Linked DNA regions of Homo sapiens: region 2 is linked to region 1. The links are contacts of gene promoters, found by promoter capture Hi-C in human tissues and cell types (Jung and others, 2019). All regions are on one chromosome and are shown on one strand. Each heading gives the region's core, a stretch centred on a gene start or on the middle of the fragment in contact. The rest is flanking DNA. Distances are from core to core; before and after follow the strand shown. Region 1 holds the start of NDST3 (N-deacetylase and N-sulfotransferase 3). Region 2 has its middle 140 kb from the start of LINC02264.

Evidence for each region. Contacts are between HindIII fragments. The study calls those that stand out against the background at their distance.
Region 2: a fragment that was not itself captured here is called in contact with the fragment with the promoter of NDST3 in region 1 in 2 of the 25 tissues and cell types used here (dorsolateral prefrontal cortex and mesenchymal stem cells).

The regions. Positions count from the first base shown.
Region 1 is chr4:118,030,931-118,038,102 of GRCh38, reverse strand. NDST3 (N-deacetylase and N-sulfotransferase 3) reads right to left here and starts at 3,617. Exons shown (of 14, transcript NM_004784.3): 1 at 3,511-3,617. The HindIII fragment of the contact is 9,214 bases long and covers 1,401-7,172 here.
Region 2 is chr4:117,692,461-117,699,632 of GRCh38, reverse strand. No RefSeq gene overlaps it. Among named protein-coding and RNA genes, the nearest start is that of LINC02264, 140 kb to the left of the region's middle. The HindIII fragment of the contact is 7,205 bases long and covers 1-7,009 here.

The DNA.
Region 1 (7,172 bases), core at 2,368-4,867:
CATTAGACTCATGGGAACAAGAGAGTGTTAACCTGGCCTCTCATTGGTTGCCTGGACCATTAGATGTAAAGTTACAGATCAGTGTTGGCTATGTTTTAGGGCAGGTTACATGAACCAGATAAGGAAAGACAGCCAATCTGCAGAGAGAAGATGATGCAAAAAGAGTAGAAACGAATAATGAAAAAATATGATATAGGGAGTCTTGAGGAGGTTGAAGGTTCTATTACTCTCTATTCTATGGACACATCAATAAAGGCGTCAGGTAAATTATTCTTCTGTTACCTTGGGCACATTTTAGAACAAGTGAGACTCAACCTAACAGCAGTAGCAAAAGAGGAGAAAGAAATCACCTGAACTAGACTGTATATACTTAGCTAGGGAAGGCACCACATTTAATTGTCCTGTGGACTCCTTTATGCCTGGTGCAAAAGTAGATGCTTAGTAAATACCTCCTGGGTGAATGAATGAGTATTTCATATGTAAGGGAAGTGATGGAAATTGTTGGAGTGGTATATGGATTACCTCTGTTCCATCAAGAGGCATATCAAGAACAAATATTTGAAACCTATAGAGAGACAATGTAGTATAACGGTTAAAGGAATGTGTGCTGGAGCCGGACTCAAACTGCATACCAGCTTCAGCACTTGCCAGGGATGTGATCTTAGGCAGGTAGGTAACCGCTCAGTGCCTCAATTTCCTCATTTGTGAAACAGGAATAATATTTACCTTAAATAATCTTTGTGAAGATTATATGAGCTAAAAATTAATATGTAAAGTAGAACAGTGCCTGGTACAAGGTAACTATTCTATGAGTAAAAACTGTAACATCTCTACTTAGCAGAAATCTAGACAATAGTACTTATCACCAAGTTAAATTTTGTATTATTCACTGATGTTTTCTCATCTATCTTCGTCCTGGCCTCCAGATCAATTTCTAAAATGTTGAACAAACAGGATAAAAAAGGGTCTCTGGAATCCTCATTTTTCAGGTGAAGAAACCAAGCCCCAGAGCCAGCAAGGGAGCTGTTCAAGGCCACTCCTGTCTTGGCAGAGCCAGTCCTAGAATTTAGGTCTACTTTCATGTTATTTTCAAATATTTTAATGAAAAAAAAAATTCAGCAATGAAACACATGTAAAATGGATACCCATAATTGAGATGCTTAAAGGTTTTAGGATAGGACTGCAATAATTGATTTTTAAGCTCTTATTTGGCAACAGGTAATCAAGAATTATAGCCCTCAGTAATTTGTAGAAGATTTGGGGAAATAATTTCTTATAGACATTAATTAATTGTAGTAGGTCCTGACTACTTTTTTTTTCTTGTCCTGTAACTTACATGAAATCGATGAAAATGTTTAGAGTAACATGAAAGAATAAATCACTCACTGTGATATCCAGGTATCTAAGAGTATAGTTTTTTACTATAAACAAACAGACAAACCAAGAAATATTAAAATCACCCCTTTACGAGAAACTTCAGTCATGAAATAGTTTTGAGGATTGTTCAGACTAATTATCTTTATAATGTAGGTCGTTACTTTTGTGGCCTGGCAGCATTCCTAATCTGGACAGGTGTTCAGAGTTCATGCATTTCAGTGTGAATGCTCATTTATAATAGACACAGCACAGGGAAAGTAAACTTCTACTGTTTTCCCTTACTGTCAGAACTGTTAAGCAATTAGAAATTCAAGGCATTCATTTAGTTGAGAATAGTGTTTTTATCCTTAATTCAATTTCCCTGATTTTATAGTGTATATAAATCACAAAGTATTTACATATAGTTTAAAAAAATATATTTTGCATCTTAACAAATGCACTTTTAAGGCTCTAATCACCAAAAAGCAGCTGAAACTCAATCAGGTTTCAAGGAAGTCATATAATCAGAGTCCCAAGATTAAAAGAAAAAAAATTGTAATTTCTTTACAGTTTTAAAATTTTGAAATGACAGGTAGACAATTACATATTTACATTTTAGCTTATAATAACTTCTTTAGCAGAATATATGGTTTAGAAAAAGAATCTCCAATGCCTGATTATCTCTTCTACTATATATTTTTTAACAAACTTTTCAGTTACACCAAAAATTAATATTTGCCTCAATGTTCAGAAATAATGCTTTTCTCAAGAAAATTAATTTAAAAAGAGGGTATATATAACTCCACCAAACTAAACTATAACAAATATCTCCAGAAAGAGATAAAAGTTTTATTTTATCTAAAACATTTTAGTAATGTAAGAATTCTTCATTTTAAAGACTATGAAGAAAATTAACTCATGTGACAAGCTCAAAATTAACATTATTTACACAAAGAAACAAATCTTCTGTTTTACCATCAAGATGATAAAGAAAAATGATAACAAAATTAGAAATGGTAGATACTGTGTTAACCAGAGAAAGAAAAAAAAGAGCTTATCTTAGGCAAGCCTCTTTATATGTTCAGTACTATTTTAAAAAGGAGCCTCCTTCAAACTTATATTTGAAATCTCCATCTTAAATATAATATTGATAGGAAGGTATGGATGAAGAAAAAGGGAAAAAAATTCCCTTCAGCTGAATATCGGATATTCTAGAGTTTCTCTGCCATATCATCCTGCTCTCTGGTGGTGAACAGCATTGCTCAGTAGTTGATAACATGAAATTTTCTAAGGGCAAAAAAAAAAAACAAAAAAAAAGTGTGTGTCCCAGATCAGTTGCACACATCTCAATATTTGATTTGTATTTTAATTTAATACAAATGTATTAAGAATGTAGCTGTTTGCATTGTCTAGAAGGGTTTTCTTCTAAACTCTTCCAGATTACATGTTGCTATATTTCAATATGTTTATAAAGAATATAGATACTAATACATTTTCGACATTAAATAACTCTGATGCTTAAACAGTATCCAGCTATTAGAAAAACTATTTGAAAAAGGATCTGAGTAAACCCCTTAAAGATGTAACTTTGCTTTTACCTGCCCCCACAAAATGGATATATTAAATAGAAGATATATCTGTTTTCTTTAAATTTAAAGTTTCTGTATTTGATACCTAGATTGATTCTTTCCATTTCCATTTAATTTTATTAATTGTATAGTTTTAAATAATGTCTATAAACTGCATCAAATAGAAAGCCTTTTGAGGATCATTACTGTGTAGATAGGCAGGTAGTTTAAAGTCTCTGATATTCCTTACAAAATTCTGTCAAGGCAACAGACATGTGTTCTGTTAAACAGATCTACTTCAGAATCATTATAAGTTGGTGAATATCTTAAACAATTACAAGAGGTCATTTCTTTAGTACCATAATCTTATGAAAGGGAAGCTTTAAAATCATCCCTGAATGAGACGGTCCTTTGTTTCACTTAATTTAATCAAAATACTCTATATTTCTTCTTCAAGAATAAAATGAAGCACTTGTTCAATCTTGAAATTTTTAGATTATTTGAAAGCAAAGTTGTTATCTCTTAAAAGCCCCTACATTTATGAGTGAGGCATTAATGCACAGTATAAATAAATAAATACACTTACCTGGAATTAAAGTTCAGAGCTGAAAATGCTTGAGAAAGTTGCAATAGATGGAAAAGAAACGGAAACAGTACCACTCGTTACCATCGGCTCAGGCTTTTTGACTTTACAAGTGGTAGCAACACCAGTCCTGGCCCAGTACTCTCATGTTATGTAACATCTTATTAATATTAGCCATCAAACTGCTACCAAGCTGGTGAGGCACTAGAGGGCAAGAGTGTCACATGCAAGACCCGTCGCCAAGGGACCGGCTTTGGTACCACTTCGGGGGAAGACAGATGCTAACTAAGCTGATGAATAACAGGATGCCCGAATACAACAGCAAACTTGTAACGTTCCTCAAAGAATATTTTACATGTCAATTTTCTGACTAGCGGAAGAGTTAACAGGTTAATAAATATGAGCAAGCAAATAACCACACCATGAAAAACTTTTAGGATTATATTTACAAACCCACAGTCACTCAAGAGGCTGTTTGTTTTTTTCTTTCCATTGTCTAAATAAACTTATTTAAAACAGGAGAAAAAAGCTGGTTAAATAAAACGAGTGTCGGTTTCAGGACTCCCTCATTCCAAGCCGCGAGAAACTTGTCTGGTCGAGATGCCGCCTCTGGAGTCCGCATTCCAAGGCGCCCGGATCGGGTTTCTGGGCGAGGAGACCGGCCCCGTCCTCCATGGAGATTACCTGGGGCTGCAGCCGTCCGCGGGCTCCTCCTTCCCTCGGGTCTTCGGCCTCAGCCGCTCCCCAGGGCCCCTCGTCCGGGTGGCGCTTGGGTGCTACGCGGTGCCCGGGGTCCGGCGGGGGCGACAAGCGGGCGACCTCTCCCCTCCGCGCCCGGGATCTGCGCGGACACAGCTGGTGGCGACTTCGGCCGCTCAGGCTGCGGCTGCGGGGCGAGCGCAGCGGGTGCGCCGGGGACTCCTGCGCTGGAGAACCACGGCCCTGGGACCCGCCCGGCCGCGCCTCCGCCGCCCTCGCCACCGCCTCCCGGGCGGGAGCCGCCGCCTCCCAGCTCCCGGCCCGCGCGCGCCCGCCCCGGGGAAGGGGAGGGAGCGGGAGCTGAGGACGGGAGCCGCCTCCATCGACCGGGCTCCCGCCCGGACCGGCCCTGAGGATCTGGCTGCCCGGGCCTCGACAAGGAGACCCCGGGGGTTCCGCCCCGGCCTGCCAGTTCCGACCGCCCCTCCCGGCGGGTTGGCGGCGGCCGCCAAGGATGAAACGTCTTGTGCGGCCAGGGAAAGGGGTGCGAGTCCCCGAGGCGACGCTGGAAGGGTGGGGCGCACCCGCGCGGTCCCTTCCTGTGGTGCTCCTGCCGTTGGCACTGGACCAGGGCGGCTGCGAGGCTGCAAGAGTTTCCTCTGTTCGCCAGTTTTTTTCAAATGCCATGTGTTTCAGCTCCTGAAGACAAGTGGAAGGCCAGCAACTGAAGAGATATTTTGGATTCAAGGTGTGAGGTTACCCTCTCCAGAACTATAGTTTGATTAGAAGTGTGAATCGAATGATATATATTTTTAAAAATTTCATTTGGTTCCACTAACATGTGAATTGTATTAAGTGGGGTCTACTAATGATACTTTGTATTGGCCATTTGTGGTTTTGCTTCCCAGCACTCACTCTTGTTGAAACAGTACTCCTGTTCATTTTGGAAGATCCAACCACTTGATCTCACCCCGCAGCCCATTTGCTTTAGGTGATGTCAGCCGCTGCTGACTCACTGGTAGACCCACAGCTCAGGTCTGGCCAGTGATGGCTTTCTGTCCTGGTAGCATGGGTAGGTATGTAACCCAGGTCTGGCCAATCAGAGAGAAAAACAGAAAAAAACCACCATTCTGGGACTTTTTTTTTTCCTTCCTCTCTTAAGAAAGTGGACTCTCTTCTACTGGACTTTGCATAATGAAGATGTGAGCTTAGAGCTTGAAGTCTGAAAATAAAGCTGATACTCAGGAAGGCAGAACTGAGAGTTGGAGAAAAGTGAAACCCAGATGGAGATTTTCGAGCTTGGAATCGAGCTGTAGCTGAAATAAGTTCTATCTCTGGATATTTTCATTCATAAACAAATACATTCACTTTTTTTTTTGATTCGGAGTCGCGCTCTGTCGCCCAGGCTGGAGTGCAGTGGCGTGATCTCAGCTCACTGCAAGCTACGTCTCCCGGGTTCCCACCATTCTCCTGCCTCAGCCTCCCGAGTAGCTGGGACTATAGGAGCCCGCCACCAGGCCCGGATAATTTTTTGTATTTTGGTAGAGACGGGGTTTCACCGTGTAAGCCAGGATGGTCTCGATTTACTGACCTCGAGATCCGCCCACCTCGGCATCCCAAAGTGCTGGGATTACAGACTTGAGCCACCGCGACTGGCCACATTCACTTTTGTCTTAAGGCAGCTTGGACTGCATTTGCTGTCCCTTGAAACTGAAAGAGACACAAACGATGATACAGTAATTAAATATTCTGGTTGTTTATTAACTTTATCAGGGTATTTGGATTCGTAGTTCAAGACCTTCAATTAGAACCCAATGTCCTGAAAGGGTTAGTTGGAATTGTGTTTTAAAATCAGGAAGTTATATATCCTTTTTGTTCTATGTGATGGAGGGGTTACAGATGTGACTGAACCAATTGCTCCTTCTGGAAGCCCACAAAAATGTCAGGATGCTAGAATTCTTTGGCCAAGTAACATGTATTAGATTGGTTTTATTTATTTTTTAGTTGGAGTGTTCCCTGGAAGTCTTGTGCCTTTTAAGAATTTTAAGAACCCACATTTATTTTTCTATGTACTCCTTACCCAAGAGAGAGCCTGCTCTGTCTTCCGAGCAGCCATGCATTCATCATTTTAGTAATCAAAAAAATTATTGAACACCTACTAAATGGCTCTGGGAATACAATAATATTGAAAAAAGAAAAGCAGGACCACTCTCTGCCCTTCAGTCGCTTATATTGATATAGCTGTAGGAGGTCAGGCTCTTCTACAAGATTTCAGAGAATAGACAAGATTCATGAATTCATAAATTCCTAAATGTTTCAGGGAATGTAGGCAGATTCAGAAATGATATTCACTTTTTCTTTTCTTTTTCTACCTCCTCTGCACAAAAACACAAAACCAGAAAAACTTCTTCTACAAAATAAGATACTTACTATTCTTATGACTGTATTTTGGGGTTTTCTTCAGCTAAGATGGATAGGAGACATAATCAAATTTCTCATTGTTTTTGGGAGAGTTGTTACCTTTACCAGCTACTGCTCCTTCCAACCATCCATCTGGAATTACAAACAGCTTAGGATCATGCTGTCTTTTCCTATGAGATCCTCAAATCTTACACCTCTATTAGAGAAGTCCTCATCTGCACACATATGTCGTCTAAGCCAGTGTAATAGCAGATTGATATGTTGCCTATATTTCCTTTCACTCCTGGGCTGCGTGCCCAGCAGAGAGGTAAGAAGGGACAGACATCAGGGCCAACCATTGCCCCCTGTAGCCCTCCCTTCCAATCTTCTGTTCCTAACCCAGGGACATTAAGGCCAGCGAAAAATTTTCCTCCAGAGAGGTATTCCTATTTAGTCTAACACTGTGGCAGTGCCCAAGTAGAGGTGGAGAAGGCCATCTGATTCAGGGCCAGACATTTGTGAAGCACTTCAAATAGAGTCATCTCCAAATGAACTTGTGCAATACA
Region 2 (7,172 bases), core at 2,158-4,657, 340 kb after region 1:
CCCAGGATGTTCATCTATTTTTAGAAGCTCTTTTGTTTTTTAAATCTTTTTCTATCAATACTAAATGTTTAGAGGAGAAAAGCTATGTCCAATTGTGAACATATAGAATCATTTTAACTACATGTCTCCACATAATGTTTTAATATTTATATCACCATTCTGATCCCCTTCTAAAATCTATAAATATTAAATGGAGTGACTTTCATAGAATTATCTTTTTTTCCTCAGTGAATGTGTTCCTTGGGGTTCTTGTTCACACTTTATTTACTATTGCTACCCCCACCACTAATGCAGCATCAAGCACGGTGTTTTGAACATTTTTAATAAATTCATTTTTTGATATAAAAGTTTTTATCCTGTTTCCATTGATATGATCATATTAAAATCTACACTACCTGTTTGCATATTATTTAAATATTCTTTACCTTAATTGTTAGCGTAAAGAATGATAAAAATTTCCAGAGGATATAACTTCCAAGGAAGTTAGAATCTATGCATATTATATAGGACATCTTCCTAATTATGTGTGTAGTGAGGATATCTGCACATATAATTAGGAATCGGTGGTTTTTAGCCCTAATTTATTATCTATCTCTTTCAAATCTCCATTTATTTATTCAAGACACTCAGCTAAAATAATGTCTTAATGAAAGCTAAATTGAACCAAATGTATTTTAGTTTTAACCCAAAAGAGCTAAAAGTAGGGAGATACTAAAAACAAATTTTTATATATGAGAACAGAAATCATTACATGTTTTCAGCATGTGCAGCTAATTTTTAATGCTCAGTGCATATTATGGGATATGACCTTTCACAAATTATTTGAAGCATTTATTTATTTAGCAAATATTGAGAATATTTTCTTTCTTCATTGATTTATATTACACAGGTTTACAAATTCAGTTAAAAGGCAAACATACGTATGCTTTATTTTAAAAAATTTTTATTTATACAAATTTAGGGAGTACAAGTGCAGTTCTGTTACACGGATACATTGCATAGTGGTGAAATCTGGCTTTTAGTGTAACCATCACCCAAATAGTGAACATTGTGCTCAATAGGTAATTTTTCAACCCTCACCCCCTTCCATGCTCCCATCTTTCAGAGCCTTCATGTCTATTATTCCACTCTGTGTGTCCACGTGTACTCATTGTTTAGCTCCCACTTATAAGTGAGAATATGCAGCATTTAACTTTCTGTTTCTGAGTTATTTCATTTAGGATAATGGCCTCCAGCCCATCCATGTTGCTGCAGAAGACACGATTTAATTCTTTTTTTATAATTGAGTAATGTTCCATGATGTACACACACACACACACACACACACACACACACACACACACGAACACACCCCACATCTTTATCTAATCGTTTGCTGACAGACACCTAGGTTGATTTCATAAATTTGCTATTGTGAATAGTGCTGTATTAAAAATAGATGTGGAGGAGTCTTTTTTATATAATGCCTTCTTTTCCTTTCGGTAGATACCCCACAGGGGGATTGCTGTGTAGAATGATAGCTCTATTTTCAGTTTTTTTGAGAAATCTTTATACTGTTTTCCATAGAGGTTTTTACTAATTTACATTTCCACTGACAGCATGTAACCATTCCCTTTTCATTGCATCCTCACCAACACATGTTATTTTTGACTTTTTAATAATAGCCATTCTGACTGGTGTATGATGGTATCTCACTGTGGTTTTAATTTGCATTTCTCTGATGATTAGTTATGTCAAACTTTTTTTTAAAATGTTTGCTGGTTGCTTGTGTGTCTTCTTTTGAAAAATATATGTTCACTTTTTAATAGAATTGCTTGTTTTGTGCTTGCTGAGCTGTTTTAGTTCTTTGTGGCTTCTGGATATTGGCCTTTTGTTGGATGCATAGTTTGCCAATATTTCCCCCCATTCTGTAGGTTGTCTGTTTACAACCTAATAATACATAGATTATTAATTTTTCTGTGCAGATGCTTTTAGTTTGATTCAGTCTTATTTGTCTATTATTGTTTTTGTTGTGTTTGCTTTTGAGAACTTAGTCATAAATTCTTTGCCTCGCTCGATGTCCGGAAGAGTTTTATTAGGTTTTCTTCTAGGATTTTTACAGTTTCAGTTCTTACATTTAAGTCTTTAGTTCATCTTGTGTTAATTTCTATATATGTTGAGGAATAGGGGTCCAGTTTCCTTCTTCTGCATATAGCTATCCAGTTTTCTTAGCCCCATTTGTTGAATAGGGTGTTTATTTTTCAGTGTGTATTTTTGTTGACTTTGTTGAAGATCAGTTGATTGTAGATATGTAGCTTTATTTCTGTGTTGTCTATTCTGTTCCATTGATCTATGTGTCTATTTTTATATCAGTATCATGCTGTTTTGGTTACTATAGTATTCTAGTAGTATAATTTGAAGTCAGGTAATATGATGCCTCGAGGTTTAGTTTTTTGCTTAGGATAGCTCTGGCTATTCAGGTTCCTTTTTGTTTCCATGTGAACATTAAGATTTTTTAAAAATTCACAGCAACCTGGGTGGAACTGGAGACTATTATTCTAAGTGAATAACTCAGAAATGGAAAACCAAACATTGTGTGTTCTCACTCATAATTGGGAGCTAAGCTATGAGGATGCAAAGGCATAAGAAAGATAAAATGAACTTTGGGGACTCAAGGGAAAGGGTGGGAGAGGCGAGGGACTATAAATTGGGTTCAGTATATACTGCTTAGGTAATGGGTGCACCAAAATCTCACAAATCACCACTATAATTACTTACCAATGTAACCAAATACAATGTGTTCCCCCAAAACCTATGGAAATAAAAAATTAAAAAGAAAACATTGGTAATTTGATAGGAATTCTGTTGAGTCTGTAGGTGGTTGTCTTGGGGAGTATGTTCATTCTAAAAATATTGATTTTTCTAATTAATGAGCATGGGATGTTTTTCATTTGTTTGTATCATCTGCAAATTCTTTCATTAGTGTTTTGTAGTTCTCCTGGTAGAGATATTTTACCTCTTGGTTAAATGCATTGCTGGGTATTTTATTTTATTTTTGTGGCTATTGTAAATAAGATTGCATTCTTTATTTGGCTCTTAGCTTAATTGTTACTGGCATATAGAAATGCTACTGATTATTGTACATGTTACTTGTATTCTGAAACTTTGCCGAAGTTATTTATCTAATCTGGGAATTTTTTGGAAGGGTCTTTAGGGTTTTCTAGGTACAAGATTTTATCATCAGCGAACAGAGATAATTTGATTTGCTCTTTTGCAGTTTGGCTGCCTTTTGTTATCTTCTATTGCCTGATTGATCTGGCTAGAACTTCCAGTACTGTGTGGATTATGGCTGGGTGAAAGTGGGCACGCTTGACTTGTTTCAGTTCTTAGGGGGAGCGCTTTCAGGTTTCCCCCATTCAGTGTGATGTTAGCTGTGGGTTTGTAATATGTGGCTTTTATTATTTTGATGTATATTCCTTCAATGCCTAGTTGGTTGAAAGTTTTTATCATTAAGCAATGCTGAATTTTACTGAATGCTTTTTATGCATCATTGAGATGATCAGAAGCTTTTTGTTTATAATTCTTTTTATGTGGTAAATCACATTTATTGATTTGTGCATGTTGAATTATCCTTACATCCCTGGGATAAAACACGCTTGATAATGGTGTACTATCTTTCTGATGTGCTGTTGAATTGGTTTTGCCAGAATTTTGTTGAGGATTTTTGCATCTATATTCATTAGGGGTATTGGTCTGTAGTTTTCTTTCTTCTTCTTGTGACCTTTCCTGGCTTAGTATCAAGTTGATACTGGCTTTGTAAAATGAATTAGGAAAGATTCCCTTCTCCTCAATTTTTTTGAAACTGTTTCAGTAGAATTGGTAACAGTTCTTTTTTGTATATCTGGTAGGATTTGGCTGAGAATCCATCTGGTCTTGGCCTTTGTTTTGTTAGGAGATTTTTTATTACTGATTCAATTGCACTACTCATTCCTGGTCTTTTGAGGATTTCTATTCTTCCTGGTTCAACAATGCTACATTGTATGTTTTCAGAAATTCATTCATTTCTTATAATTTTTTTAGTTTGTGCACCTACAGATGCTCATAGTAGCCTTTGATGATCATTTGTATTTCTGTGGTATCAGTTGTAATGTCACCTTTATCATTTTTGGTTATGCTTAATTTGACTCTTCTCTTTTTCTTGGTTAATCTAGCTAGCAGTCTATCAACTTTATTTATTTTTCAAATAACTAACTTTTTGTTTCATCGATCCTTTGTTCCTTATTTTTAGTCTCAATTTCATTTAGTTCTGCTCTCGTCTTTGTTTTTTTTTTTTCTTCTTAAAACTTTCGGTTAGCTTATTTTGGTATTCTAGTTCCTTGAGGTGTGACATTGGGTTTGTAATTTGAGCGTTTTCTATCGTTTTGATCTAGGCATTTAACACTATAAAGTTCCCTCTTAGCACTGCTTTTGCTGTACCACAGAAGTTTTGATATATTGTGTTTGTATTTTGTATTGTATTTGTATTTGTATTGATATTTTTGATATATTTTGTTTGTATTTTCATTTGTTACAATATTAAACAAAAAAACTTCTGTCTTAATTTTATCATTGACATAATGATCATTCAGGACTAGGTTGTTTTATTTCAATGTGTTTGTTTAGTTTTCAGAGTTCCTCTTGGTATTAATTTCCAGTTTTATTCCACTGTGGTCTGAGAAGACTCCTGACATGATTTTGATGTTTTTTAAAATGTATTGAGACTTGCTTTGTGGCCTGTCATATAATCTATTTTGGAGAATGTTCCATTCATATATAAGAAGAATGTATATTTTGCAATTGTTATGTAAAGTGTTCTGTAAATGTCTAGTAGGTGCATTTGGTCTAGAGTCCAATTTAAGTCCAGAGTTTATTTGTTGATTTTCTTTCTTGATAATGTTTAGTGCTCTCAGTGGGATGTTGAAGTCCCCCACCATTATTGTACTGTGATCCATCTCTTTTCTTAGTACTAGTAGTATTTGTTTTATAGATCTGAGTGCTCTGGTATAGGGTGCATAAGCATTTAGGATTGTTACATCTTATTGAATTAATCCTTTTATCATTATATAATGACCCTTTCATCTATTTTTACTGTTGTTGATTTAAAGCCTGCTTTATGTTATATAACTACTCTTGCTCGCTTTTTATTTTTGTCTGCATGGAATATCTTTTTCCAGCCCTTTGAGGAAAAATTGCAGACTTTGGCTTTATGAATATCTTTACCAGTTAGGTGGGTTTCTTGTAAACACCATATGGCTTGATCTTTTTTTAAAAGAATTAATTCCATGAGTCTATATCTTTTAAGTGCAGTATGTAGTTCATTTGCATTCAAGGTTACTATTGACTTGTGAGGTTCTAGTCCTGTCACAATACTAATAGTTACCTAGTTGCTGTGTGGACTTAATTGTGTAAATGCTTTTTAAGAATGTTTTATTCTTTCCTTTTTTTTTTTTTTTTTTTTTTTGACAGCAAGTGTTGCCCTTTTGTTTCCACGCTTGGGATTCTTTTGAGCATTTCTTGTAGATATGGGCTAGTGGTGACAAATTCCCTTAGCATTTGCTTGTCTGGAAAAGACTTTATTTTTCCCCCATTTATGAAGCTTAGTTTAGTAGGATACAAAACTCTTTGCTAGCAGTTTTTTATTTTATTTTTATTCATGTATTTTTTATGAAGGCTGAAAATATGACCACAGTCTCTTCTGGCTTGTAAGGTTTCTGCTGAAAAGTCTACTGCTAGTATTACGGGGTTCCTTTGTAAGTTATTAGATGCTTCTCTCTTGCTGATTTTAGAATGTTTTTGTTCGTATTGACTTTGGGTAGTCTGATGATGACATGTCTTGGTGAAGTTCATTTTGCAATATATCTTCCAGCTATTTCTTGAGCTTCTTGTATCTGGATGTCTAAATCTTTAGCAAGACCAGACTATTTTTCCTAAATTATTCCCTCAAATAGGTTTTCCAAACTTTTTATTTTTACTTATTCTCTCTCAGGAATAGCTGTGACTCATGTTTGGCCGCTTTACATAGTTGCATATTTCTTGTATTGGAATGCTTTGTTAATTAAAAAATTTTTTTTCATTATTTTTGTCTGGCTACATAAATTCAAAAGACCTGTCTTCCAGCTTAAAATTATTTCTTCCACTTGGTCTAGTCTATTCTTAAAGCTTTCAATTATAATTTTAAATTTTTTCCATAAATTTTTATTTCCAGAAGTTGTGTTTTTTTAAATATTGATCTCTTTAGTTTAATTTTTATGCATAAACTGTATTGTTTTTCTGATTTCTTTGTGTTGGCTTTTATCTTTCCCTGGATCTCATTGAGCTTCCTTACAATTCATATTTTGAATTATTTATCTGTCATTTCAGAATTTTCATTTGGATTAGAATGCATTGATAGAGAGCTAGTATTATCCATTGGGGAATGTCAAAACATCTGCTAGACATTTTATGTTAGTTTCTTTTTACCTGGAGAAAGTATCACTTCTTATTTTTGAATTGACTTTTGCTTGAATGGGACTTTTTTCCTTCCCTTGCAGATGCAACTGTTCATTAATTAGGTAGAGTCTTTTGGCTTTGGTTTTTATTCTGCTTTTAGGTGGCCAAGGCTTTGTATAAATTCCTTGGTTATAGATAGATAGTCTTAGTGTGGTGGTTTTCTCAAATTCTGTTTTTTTTTTTGTTTTGTTTTTTTGTTTTTGTAGGTTGTAGTAGCAGTGTGCTGGGTGTGTGAGTAGGCTTACTGCCTCTTGCAGATATGGTGAGGTGGGGGTGTTGGAAAGATTATCTTGTTCTCCAGTCCTGTGCACTTCTGTTAGCAATTTTATTAGGTTGTGAATTTTGATATCCAGGCCAGTAGGTGACACTGCAGGTAAGAACCAGCCAAGTGCTGTGTAATTGTGTTAGCTGAGGTTGTAATGGGCTGTACAGATTGACCTCCCAGCCATGAGGTGTTGCTTGCAGGAGAGAGGCAGCTGCAGTGATCCCAGTGGGATTTATGCCTGGCTTTTGATAATCAGAAGTACTCAGATGTCTGGGCGATGGGTGAGGCCATGGAACTCTCACCAGTCTCATTCCATGCTCTGACACCAAGATAGGTGGAGAGGGCAAAGCTGGGCACAACTACTGGGTTGGGCAAGCCTCTGTCCAGGCTTTCCAATGGC